Regions from separate parts of the Homo sapiens genome. Here all the other regions are linked to region 2. Evidence: promoter capture Hi-C in 16 types of primary human blood cells and fetal thymus (Javierre and others, 2016). All regions are on one chromosome and are shown on one strand. The core of a region is centred on a gene start or on the middle of the fragment in contact, and the rest is flanking DNA. Distances in the headings are between cores, read along the strand shown. Region 1 holds the start of ZNF467 (zinc finger protein 467). Region 2 holds the start of REPIN1 (replication initiator 1). Region 3 holds the start of KRABD3 (KRAB domain containing 3).

Region 1 (3,913 bases), core at 408-2,907, 600 kb before region 2:
TGACCCTACGCTCCGGGCCGCCTCGGCGGCAGCGCTCCCCTCCCCCTCTCAGACTCCAGGCTGCCTTTCCCTACCCTCCCGGTTCTCCCCCGCTCCATCTCCCTCCCCGGCTGCACACCCTCTCCCTTCCTTTCCCCCTCCTCTTTTCCTTCCTCGCCAACCCCCGCCCTCCTCCTCTCAGCTCTTTTCCCCAACCCAGTTCTCCTCTCCCCTCCCTCCTCTCCTCCCCCACCCCGGTTTCCCTTCCTTCTCCTTTCCTCGCCTCACCTCGGTTCCCTTCCCCTCCCCCTTTCCAGCCCTCCCCCACGTCTCCCCACCGCCCTCCCCCTCCCCCCTCCCTTCTGCAGCTCTCCTTCCCCTCCGAGGCCCCCGCCTCCCTTCCCCCTCTGTCTCCCCAGCAGGCTCCAGCTTCGCTTCCCTCCCCGTCCCCAGTCCCCAGAACCGCTCTTCCCCTCCCCCCTCCCAGGCTGCTTCCCAGCTCCCGGGTCCTCCGGCCCCCAAGCCTGGGGGTCTAGGGCTGACCCGCTCTCTCGGGACCTTCCCGCGGGCCCTGCCCTCCCCACTCCGTCTCCCCTCCGAACACCCCTCCGCGCCTCTCTTCTCCGCCGCGGCGCCCCCTCCCTATTTCTGCTCCCCTCGGACTTCTCACCCCTCCCAAGTTTTCCTCCCGACGGGACCCTCAGCTCCACCTCCCTGCCCCGCCGCCCTCCCAAGCAGCTCCGATCGCCGACTTCATTCCAGGTCCCGGCCCCCTCCCCAGCTCCGGGGCTCACCTGTCAGCGCCCTCCTCTCCCGCCCCTACCGAGTGGCCCGGTCCCCAGCGCCCGCTTCTTCCTCCCCTTCCCCCTCGGCCCCCTCCCACACTCCCTCTCTCCTCCCCTCGGGGCCCGTCGTCCCCCTTCCCACCTGCCTCCCGCCCGACCCCCTCCCAGCCCCCGCCCTTCCCTCCAGCCCCCCCGGTCTCCTCTACCCCCACAGCCCTCACCCTGCCCGCGCCGGCCTTGCCCTCCCTTCCCCCCAGCCCCCGACCTCCCCGGACCCGCGCCCCTCCCCCACGCCCGCCGTCCGCGCCCCTACCCCCGGGGCTGTCACCTGCGCGGAGCCGGCCGTGACCCAACCGCGGCGCTGAGGGAGACGCGGGCGGGGCCGCCTGCAGAGGAGCCTCCCCGGCCCTTACCTGGCTGGCCGGCCGCTCCGCCCGCGCCGCGGGGACCCAGGCGCCCGGGCCTCCTGCCCCGCCGGCTCTGCTCACAATGGCGCTCGCCGCCTGCAGCTCGGGTGCTGACGGCCTGAAAGACTGACAGACTGACAGCCCCGAAACTTCGCGGGGAGGAGAGGGATAGACGCGCGGGGAGTCGAAGCCGGGAAACGGCGCCTGCAAGGGAGGAGGGACCGAGGGAGCGGGCGGAGAGCCCCGGCGCACCGGGCTGGGGGAGGCAGGGGCAGGGGGTTTCAGGAGTGGGGTCCCAGGAGGGAGCACCGTGGGCTTAGGTGGGCAGGTGATGGTCCTAAGGCTCCGAGCCTGGAGTAGGTGTGGAAGTGGGAGCTCAGGACGGGGGAGGGGAGGGGAGGGGAGGGGAGGGTGATGGGAGAGGGGGTGGAGGAGGGCGAGGAGGCTGGGGAGGACAGGCACTCGGGCTGCGGGGAAGGGTGCCAAGGGAGGGTGCTCGCGGCCGCGGAGGGAGGAGCCGGGGAAAGGTGGAGCGCGAACGGGTGGGGGGGTGGCGGGGAGGAGTTGGGGGAACGAGGAGGGGCCGTGTCGGGGGGGAGCCAGCGAGTCGTGCGCTGCCGTCTCTAAGTCGCCGGTGCCAGCCGGGTGTGCAGCGCCGCGCTCCCGCGGGAGGACGGCCCGGGGGGTCGGTCTGGGAAACTCCGGCCCCGCCCCCATTCTCCACCCGGATTCCACCCCGATCCACCCAGACCCGCAGCCCCTCGCCTGGAGTCCCGAGGACCCGATTCGAAACCAGCCGCGGGAGCCGTGGGGGCAGGCGGGAGAGAGGGCTGGGCCCCTGTGCTTGCGAGAACGGGTCCTTCGAAGTAGAAACTGGGGAGAGGACTTTAAGCCAGGTCCCCTGGGAGAAGGCCGGGCCAGGTCGGGAGCTCCAGGGGGCAAGGCTGGGACGGGGCTGGGCGGAGATTCTGAGGGCGGGGTCCGGGGGAGGGTCTGGGAGGGGGCTGCAGAGAGGGGAGGGCTCTATGGGCGGGAGACGATTGCTGGGGGGCCTGCTGGCCCGGACACCACCTGGAGTTAGATGTGGAGGGCAGCCCTCAGCCCTCAGCCCTCAGCCCCAGCTCCTCAGGGGACTCCACTCGCCCTCCCTGCCCAGGTTACGAGGTTTCTCCTTGGCCTTGTTCCCGCTGCGCCCACTCCTGAAAGCTCCGGAGATGCTGAAGTCTGGACTGTTAGTTCCCGGTCTCCTCTCCATGAACTTTCTCCAAACCCCTGGGTTCCAGCTTCCTCCCTTCTGCCCCTTTACGGGAAAGGGTGACTGCAACTCGGGTCTCTTCCCAATCCCAGTGCTGCCTGATCAGCCCCGGTTTGAATCCAGAGCTGAGTGAGGCTGGGAAGGGGAGGGTGTGAATGGCCCTTGAGCTCCTGCTACCACAGCCCACCACAAGGATGAGTGCCTGGAAGAGCGCCCATCACTCGGGCTCAGCTGTGAAGGCTCCTCTGCCTCCAGGATGAAGGGAGCACCTGGAGTAGCATGTGTCACTGTGCGTGCTGGGGTGTGGCCGAGCACCTGTGCCGGTGTTGTGAGACTTACAGTGAGAGTGTGCATGTGTGTAAAACAGGAAAGGGGGGTGTCTGGGTGTGCGTGTGGCTCTTTCTGAGGACTCCAGAGCAGGAGTTGATCCCAGTCATCCGTGACCCCCTGAGAGACTCACTCTGGGCCCTTTTTTGGCCCTGGGACCAATGGTGAACCCAGGAGAAGGAGAGCCCGGCCCAGCTCTGGTTAACAGCAGCCCCCTTCCTCCCCTAGGTGGAATGACTCTACAGGATACTCGGAGGGATATCAGGTTTAGGAGACCGAGGGGTGTGGAGTCGGAGCCAGGCTGCATTCCAGCCCGGGTGTCCGGGTGTGCTCAGAGCTCTGCTGGGACCAGGGTGGACCCCGGATTCCCCTGTGGAGCCTGTCACTGCCCCTCCCAGCCGGATTCTCGGATTATTTCATCCGGCTTAGCTCTGCCCCAGGGCTGGGGGAGCTGGCTCCCCCGCCCACTCCTTCCAGAGGGTCCTCTCATTCCTCAGCATAGGCTCCCCAGTTCTAGACCCCAGAGACTCTAGGAGACCCTCGAAGAAGGAGACAGGGTGGGCCCAACCAGCCACACATAATCATCCCCAGCAAGAAACTGGACCCTGGAGAAAAGGGTACATGTTGCCCACGCATCTCCACACACTCAGGAACCCCAGCTACCCTAGAAGTGCTCCCACTCACTGCCCCCGACTCCTCAGTTTGGGCAAGAGAGGGGCGGGAGGCAGGGGAGCATCATCCAGGCAGAAGTTCAAGGCTGGAAGACCCCATCAGTCGTTTAGCCCAGGAGCTCTTAACCTTTTCATGGGGTCATGGCCCTCTTGAGAATCTAATAAAAGTATAGAACTGTCTTCAGAAAAATGTGCACATACAATTTCAAAGAATTACTGGAGTCTGAGACCTATTTGTGCATCCCTGGGAAGTCCCTGAAATTTTTACTGGGAAGGAAATTGAGGCCCAGAAATGGAGGGTGGCTTGCCCAGAGCCCCATGTTAATTTGTGGTAGTGCCTGAGAGTGTGAAAATACACACACACACACACACACACACACACACACACACACACACACACAAAGGGAAACAGATGCACTGGAAGGGGACAGGAAGGAGACTGTTTCCAGGGAGAGCTGGCCTCTGAGGGGCTGGTGTGGCAGGTCCAAT
Region 2 (3,812 bases), core at 822-3,321:
AGTCCCAGCTGCTCGGGAGGCTGAGGCAGGAGAATGGCGAGAACCTATGAGACGGAGCTTGCAGTGAACCGAGATCACACCTCCCTCTACACTCCAGCCTGGGAGACAAGCCAGACTCCATCTCAAAATAAATAAATAAATAAATAAATAAATAAATAAATAAATAATAAAATAAAAATAAAACAAAACTTTCTTATGCTCGCTTCAGCAGCACATAGACTAAAGCAAAACTTTCTCACATCAACAACTGAAAAGGTAGGCCGGATGCAGTGGTTCACATCTGTAATCCCAACACTTTGGGAGGCTGGGGCGGGAGGATCGTTTGAGACCAGCCTGGGCAACACAGTGAGACCCCATCTCTACAGAAGAAAAACATTAAAATAAAATAATTAGCTGGATGTGGTGATGTGATCCTGTAGTCCCAGCTACTCAGAGGCCGAGGTGGGAGGATTGCTTGAGCTCAGGAAGTCCTGGCTTCAGTGAGCCATGATAGTGCTACTGCACTCCAGCTCTGGTGACAGAGTGAAACCCTGTCTCAAAAAAAAAAAAAAAAAAAGTTAACAAGTACGAGGAAACACGTCTGCAACAAACATGACAAGTCTTTAATACCTGTACTTTATGAGTGCCCCCCAAACAATAAACCAACTCCCCAACTTTTAAAATGGGCAAATAGAAAAGTGGGCAAATGGACATAAACAAATTCACAAGAGAAAATAAAACTGGCAAAAAATAACCATGTGAAAAAACAATCCAGCTAACTAGTACTCTAAGAAATGCAAGTACAAAAGATGAGAAATAACCATTTCAAACTAAATTTTTTTTTTAAAAAAGTCTGTGTTGTCAAGTATATGGAAAATGGGCATTTCTCAGGGAAAACTAATACGTTTTCCTGGAAGATAATTTAGAAAACATTTAAAAAATATATTCCTTTTATACAGCCATAAATAATCATGTTTAAAAGAATATCTAATAAAATGGAAGAAAATTCACAAGATCGTGTTAAGTGAAGAAGGCAGAATACATCTTCGCAAGGCATTATTCCAATTATGCCAGACATGCCATGGATATACGTAGAGAAAACACCGGAGGCAACATACCAAAATATTAAATGTAATTGACTCTACGAGGTAAAACTGAGTTTTATGTTCCCCTATTTCCTATTTATGCAATAGATTTAAAAAGTATTTTTACGACTAATTATACAATTCAAAAATTGCCTGTGTTGAAAAGCATGAAAGTACATGAAATTGTACTACCCTGGAAACCCCAGGAAGTGTTTAGTTTGGAAAGCCAGGGCCACCTGCTAGTGGGTGAGTCATGGGCACAGGCTCGCACCTGCCACCGCAGACGCCACACAGGCTGCTGAGCCTTTCCAAGCGAAATGCCCCACGTGCGCCAACGGCCACCTCGGCCGTCGCCCCACGCTTGGCCCGCAGCCAGAGGAAGCCCAGCAACTTCTGCTCTTTCTTAATTTCTAGAAAAGAGTGAAGAGAGGCCTTTTCAAAGTTCGCAGGATCGGGCCTTTTTGTGCTCCACTTTGGAACAAATCGGAAGCTAGGGCCTTCCAGGTGCGCCACCGCCGTCCCGGGACCGCCGCGGCCGCAAGCGTCCGCACTGCGGCCGGGGTGCGCGGCCTGAGAAAGGCCCGGGCAACGACGCTCCGGGGGCTTGCCGGAGCCCTCTTTGAAGTCTCCCGACGGGCTCCCAGCCTCTCATAAGGCAGCTAAGGCCGAACACCCCGGTGACCATAGGCCAGCCACGCGGTCGCCCGGGGACGCGCGTGCTCCGCAGGGACAAAGGGTCGGGAAACTTGAGCTCCGGCCAGTCCCAGAGAAACCCGGGCTGGTGGTCGCCATGGCAACGGAGTCCGACCCTCCGAGGCCTGCCGCCCTGGCGCGGCAGTGGCTTGAGTGACCCGGCCCGCTCTTGGCGGGGGCGCCCGCGCCCCGGCCCCGGCAGTCCCTCCCCGCCCCCAGGCCGCGGCCGCGGGAGCCGGCGACTGACCCTCGGCAGCTCCTGTAGTCACGTGGCGCTGGGAACCCGGCGGGGGGAGGTTGGGGACGGGCCTGGCAGTTGTGAACTCGAACCTGCCGCTGTCGCCGCGGCGGGGCGGGGAGCGAGAGTGGGCCGCGGAGGCCGGCCTTCGGGCTCCATGGACGGGCGCCGCGTCCCTGCACAGCCCGCCGCAGAGGTACGGCCGGGGCAGGGGCGCGGGGCCACCGCGGGCCCGCGGGGGGCCGCTCCACCTGCGGGGCGCGTGACCGTGAGTGTGCGCGACCGTGTGTGAGTGCGCGGGGGGGGACGCTGCTGGATCTGCGGGGGTGGGGGAGCGCACCTGCGCACAGGCTCCGCGAGCTGCGCCGTGCGTGGGACCCGAAATGGCTCACTCGCAAGAACGGGACCCGTGTGCCCGGGAGCGTGGACGGAGGACACGCATCAGTACAAAAGGGCGGTGTGGGGCTTCTGCCACCCGCGGCCAGCCGCGATGCGGAAGGGGATTCTGACGGAGTCGTGGTCACACCAGCTGGCCCTGCGCAGCCCCATGGGAAATAGGCCTGGAATTCCTGTCGGGAGGAGGCTGGGGGAAGGGGAGCCAGCAGGGATTCCAGAGTTCCTGCCATAGGCCGGCCTTTGGCCATCAGGGAAAGCCCAGACTCTGGCCACAGAATGGAGAATTCGTTCCGTGACCTTACCAGGGAAGAAAGTGACCCCGAAAGACAGCAGTGTGCTTCCTTGTTGAAGGGGCACATTCATTTATTAATCCAATGTCCATTAAGGTCACTCTGCCAGGCAGGATGTGGGGCTTATGGCTGGTGCGTGTGGCTTTGTGGGGGGAGGGGTTGTGGCTGGTGAGGACACAAAGCTGACTGCCCTAGAGGAGCTCAGAGCCTCACTTCTGTTTTCTCTTCCCTCCCCACAGGTAAGGCTGGCCTCTCTGCAGTCAGAGGTCTGAGCTCTGCCATGGGGATAGGGGTGTCTTTATTACTGCAGTTTTCTCTAACACCTGGGGGCTACCGGAGTGTGGGCCGAAGCAGGCGCTGCAGCCGCGGAAGTATCCCCAGGAACATCCCCAAGAGGAGCTGGAAAAAGCCTCATCCCCAGCTCTGCAGTCTCCAGGGTAGAGTCTGGCCTTTGCTGTGCTCCCAAACCACGCCACAACAGGGGTGCACGGGCGTCCCCATCCCGGCGGAAGGAAATGGCCCTTTCTCATATCCTGGGGTCTTCCCTGTGCACAGTCTGACACTGGGAATGAGTGACCTTTGTGTTCCCTGAGAAGAGAGAGTGCGCTCTAGGGAATTTAGAAGGATGTGTCTGGAGCTTGTGAGCAGGCACAGAAGGGCCCTTAGGAGCCTAACTGCTTCCTTCCTCCTTCCGCGGAGGAGGCTCCTGTGCAGGAATCTGGGCTCCCCTGAGCTGTGGAAGAGCTGAACATGGGGCAGCCCCTGGCGAGGTTGGGGCAGGACCGGGCAGGGGACTGAGATTGCAGTCTCATCTTCCCTCCCCTTCTATTGCCCCAGTAATCTCCAGCACCCCGAGGGAGGCAGAGCCGGTGATCAGGCCCCGAGGGCAGCAGGCTGTGGGTGTTCCTTGGATTCAGGGAGAGCCTTCCTTCCTGCAATGTCCTAATTTGTGTGGGTGGAAGAGGGCAGGCGGGCAGAATGGGGGCACAGTCTGGGCAGGCGGTGGTCTGGCGTTAGACTGCCGGGAGTAGCACCCAGGGCTCTGCTCCTGTTCCCCGAGAAGGGCTGTTCTCACTTGTCCTCCAGCCTCCTACGGAGACTGCAGTTAGTGATGCTGAAAGTGCCTCCCCT
Region 3 (4,022 bases), core at 67-2,566, 650 kb before region 2:
CGGCCTAAAGCCCAGGAGGCGACTTACCCTGAGGGCTGTGGCCTGTAGGGCTCTTGAAAAGTTGGACTTTTAAGTTTTCCCTTTCCGCGAGGTGGGGCCTTGTGATATCTTCAAATCCTTGTTCAGCAGGCTGCGCACACGCCGGTCCTGTGTCTAAGGTGTCTCGGGTATGACCGAGGGGGCTTTGCCCGAGTGGGCGTGCGCCTTTCCTCGGAGGCCGGGACGAGGGGTTGTCGGCATCGTACCCGAGTCCGTGATCATGGCCGGCGCGGCTGCAAGGGCCAGCCCCGGGCGACTGGGCGAGGAATTCCCTTTCCTTCCCTCCGATATTGCCCAGGCAGAGCGCTGTCTGGGCCGCAAGGTCTGGACGGGGCTTCCAAACTCAGAGCAGAGTCTCCTCTGCGTGGGACCACAGCCTCCCCTTCCCCTCCAAGCTTCTGTCTGGCACAGCAGGCTTAGCCCCGCAGGCCCCCTTCCAGCAGCCTTCTATAAAAATGACGGGGTCCTTCTCCAGACAGGAAAACCAGGCTCGCTGCGCCTCGCCCGCACCCCCGGAGCGCTCTCGCAGCGCCCGCCCAGACCAGGCCTTCGAACTCGTGAAGCGCAGGGGGAGGCAGAGGAGAGTGGGCCGCGCTTCCTTCCCGCATCACACGTTTATTTGAGGCCTACTATGTGCCAGGAACAACTGGGGTTACCACCCCAGCAAACAGGCACGCAAAATGTGACACGAAGGTAGGTCATGGCTGCGGCGAGCGGGGGCGCGGGCGAAAGACGTGAGGATGTACGGGGGCCTGGCAGCTGCTCTGTCCCACCCACGCCCGGCCGGACCCTCGACCCCTTTCACTCCAGGTCGGGTTTCCCCGACCGCGGCCTCTGGGAAAGATGGGTCCCTCTTCATCCCCACCATCAGCCCCTGGCACATGGGACGCGCTGAGTGGTGGCTGCGGGAATGAATGAGTGATAAGCGGCGCGTACCCGCGGGCTTGCACGCCCACAGCCGCCCCGGCTGGTCTCGGCGCGCAACCTCTACCCGCAGCTGGGGGCGGGGACGAGGGGAGGGGGCGGGGACGAGGCCCGAGCCAGGTCCGCCCCGCCCTGTCTCCGCCCCCCGCTTCCGAGCCGGCGCCGCGGCGCCTTCTGGGAAGTGTAGTCCGCGTCTGCGCCGGCCGGCCGGGCCGCCGAAGCCGGGGGCTCCGGGCGGAAACGGCACCACCCACCAAGGGATGCGAGGCGCTCGGGGCGGGCTCAACGAGGCCGGGGGCGGGCCCGGGCGCGCCCACCCCCGCCCCTCCCCCTCGGCCCAGGCCCCCGGCCCCGCCTTCTCCTGCGCGGACCTGGGCCGCCGCCGACGAGGGTCGCGTGCGCCCGCGCCAGGGCCCGCGCCGGAAACCGAGGAGTGGCGGGGAGGCTGAGCCCGGGGATGGCGCGCCAGGTAAGGCAGGCGGACGCGCGGACCCCTCGGCGCAGTGCGGCCCCGAAGGCGGTAGGGCGAGAAAGAGCTGGGACCCCCCCGCAACTTCGGGATCGGCTGGGTGAGGCTGGGCAGGCCTGATGCTCAGGGGTTCGTGCCGGGAAGTTCAGGTCCTCGGACAACCTCTCTCCAGCTCTCCGCCGCCGGTACCCACGGCCCAGTCTCCACCTGGGGAAACCCCCTTGGCGTGGCTTGTTTCGTTACAAGTTATCCTGGTAGAGTGGGCATGAAGGCCTCGGAGGCAGTGAGTAAATCTCATACTTCTGTTCTTGGTGGAATCCTGGATCCCGGGGGCTGGGGACGTGGAAATGGGGAGAAACAAAGATAGAACAAACCCCAAGTTTTGTCTTGGGAAGCCTGCAGGTAAGGCGTTTAGATCTGAGAACTGGAGGGAGAGCCCCAGGCCGTGACAGCCTGGGCACCGTTTGGGCTAGGTTGTGTGTGGGCTGTGACGATGCTGGGAAACTCTGGTGCTGATATCAGTGAGGTATCAGGTATCTGGTGCTGATACCAGCAACTGCTCCACGTTCTTCTGGATGGGCACCTGGAGCCAGTTCTGCAACCGTGGTGGCTCCTGAGCTTTGGCCAGTCCGAGGCAGCCATGGATGGGGGGCAGCGTGTGACTAGGCAGAGCAAACACTGTGCCAGGCCCTTGGCGTCATTAGTGCCCCCAAGCATTTGGGGAGAAGGGAGAGGCTAGGCAAATTGGATGTTGTTGGGCAGGGACAGTCAAGTGTCCTTTTCAGGTCTGGCTGCACAGTTAAGTAGCCTAGGGACACCCTGGTTCAGACATGCCCATGGCCCCATCCTAAGGCCTCCTCATACCACAGTTTCCTGTTCTGTAAAGTGAGGAGTTTGGGCCATTGACCTTTCAGATCTGATGAGGGGAATATCCTCACACTACGTAGCTTCATGGAGAAGGTGGCCAGGAGTGACCTTGGGGAGTGGTAGGTCACTGTAAGGTGGAGAGGAGCAGGGAGGGTTCCCAGAAGCCCAGGGCAATGTGAGCACAGCCTCCAGGTTGAGAGGTCCTGTGGCAGGGTCTGATCAGGGAGCCCGAGCCTGAGGCCCACTGGGAGAGCAGGTCTAGGTTGGGAAGGACTGTGAGAGAGGGGCAGGTCCAGCAGGCACTGAAGCTGCAGTTTTTGTGCTGGGCTAGTGACACGGTGGAAGGGTGATGTTAGGAGGACCAGTGTGCAGCTATGAGCTAGGAGGCTGCCCAGTTACAAGAGTCCTGGGTCAGCCCAGAAAGCTTTTCTCCATTGGTTGGGGGAAGGAGGTGAAGTGGGGCCCGAGGAGGAAGGCCGGTGGTGTGTGGGCAGAGCCAGCCAGTGGTGGCCTTCCTCCTCCCGAAGATGAGTTTTGTAGCCCAGGTGTTTGCACACTCACACTTGCTCACTCCCTCACACACAAAACCCTCACTCTTTGCTTTTTCTGGGGAGAGGGAGGCCACTGGCAGAAGCGCCTACCCTGGCCACAGTCAGTTCCCATTCTCATTTTCTAAGAATTTTATCACAAAACAGTTTGTCTTGAGGCTGAGATGGTGAGAGGCCTGGAAAGCATCTCTTACAGATTCCTGGAAGAGCTGGGATATATTTAGTCTGGAGCGAGAGAGACACCGGTGGTCAGGAGCAGTATGTGGAAGAGCTCAGCTGGCAGGCTCAGACCTGCAAGCGGGCATTAGGCAGACAGGTCTGGCTGCAGTATTACTAATCATAGCACTTAATATTCATAGTCCCCGCATTTGTTCTAGGCACTATTCCTGTATTTGTTTTGTCTTCACAATACCTCTATGAGGTAGGTTGTTATGATCCCAGTATTACAGATGAGTTCACTGAGGCCCAAATAGGTTAGGTTTGGCTGAGGTCTCATAACTAGTATGAAACAAGGCAGGGATTGGAATTCTGGCAGCCTGGCTCCTGAGGCTAGGCCCCAGTCACCGTGCTCTGCCCCGGTCTCTGGGTCCGGAACCTCTTAATGGCCACATCAGGTCAGCAGTGGTACCAGTGCAACCAACATAGCTGGTATCATGTTCTTACCTAGAGCTCAGACCTGCCTTGCCAGCTCTGTGTTGAGCCATCAGAATGTCATGTGGGAACCCTCTGCCTGCCATGAACCAAAATTCCAGACTCCCAGAAGGAAAGCAGGGGTGTGGCACACACCACGTCATTTGCTCAGCCTAGGCACCTTGAGCCACTCCCATCATTTAGGGAATGGTGGGAAGCCTCCTGACACCTAAATACCTGGAAGCCAGCCTGAGCCCTCCTGGCAAGCAGGCCTTCCTAAGGACAGCGGTCTAGGGCTGCTCTGCACGCTCTTCTGCATAGACCCTGATGTTGGCTACATTTTCTCTGTTCCAAGATGCTAGGAAGAAATGTAAATAACTCTTTGAGAGAAGTTTTGGAGGGTGTCTGAGACTGTTCCTGAGAGGGAGTGACCATACCTGGGCCAGAGCCACAGAGGTTTGCTCAGGGAGAGTCTGCACATCGAGGCAGGAGGCAAAGGCTGCAGCATCTCACTGCCCATCAGCCTCTGGGCCTCCGGGCCTCAG

Evidence for each region. The method cuts DNA at HindIII sites, captures the fragments that hold promoters and counts their contacts. A CHiCAGO score of 5 or more calls a contact.
Region 1: the fragment with the promoter of ZNF467 here is called in contact with the fragment with the promoter of REPIN1 in region 2 in 1 of 17 cell types (fetal thymus); the score reaches 6.2 in fetal thymus.
Region 3: the fragment with the promoter of KRABD3 here is called in contact with the fragment with the promoter of REPIN1 in region 2 in 1 of 17 cell types (total B cells); the score reaches 5.5 in total B cells.

What each region holds. Positions count from the first base shown.
Region 1 is chr7:149,771,931-149,775,843 of GRCh38, forward strand. It overlaps ZNF467 (zinc finger protein 467), which reads right to left and starts at 1,658. Exons shown (of 5, transcript NM_207336.3): 1 at 1,178-1,658. RefSeq lists silencers at 1-4, 15-164, 1,101-1,280. The HindIII fragment of the contact is 21,836 bases long and covers 1-3,913 here.
Region 2 is chr7:150,366,751-150,370,562 of GRCh38, forward strand. REPIN1 (replication initiator 1) reads left to right here and starts at 2,072. Exons shown (of 3, transcript NM_001099695.2): 1 at 2,072-2,191; 2 at 2,921-3,118. The coding sequence starts at 2,962. All of the region lies in intron 3 of REPIN1-AS1 (REPIN1 antisense RNA 1), which reads right to left. RefSeq lists enhancers at 1,546-1,605, 1,645-2,449, 2,450-3,255, 3,256-3,812 and silencers at 1,856-2,325, 2,836-2,985. The HindIII fragment of the contact is 10,402 bases long and covers 1-3,812 here.
Region 3 is chr7:149,713,635-149,717,656 of GRCh38, forward strand. KRABD3 (KRAB domain containing 3) reads left to right here and starts at 1,317. Exons shown (of 17, transcript NM_001290187.2): 1 at 1,317-1,432. The coding sequence starts at 1,421. RefSeq lists silencers at 1-138, 965-1,404 and enhancers at 470-969, 1,607-2,239. The HindIII fragment of the contact is 2,289 bases long and covers 433-2,721 here.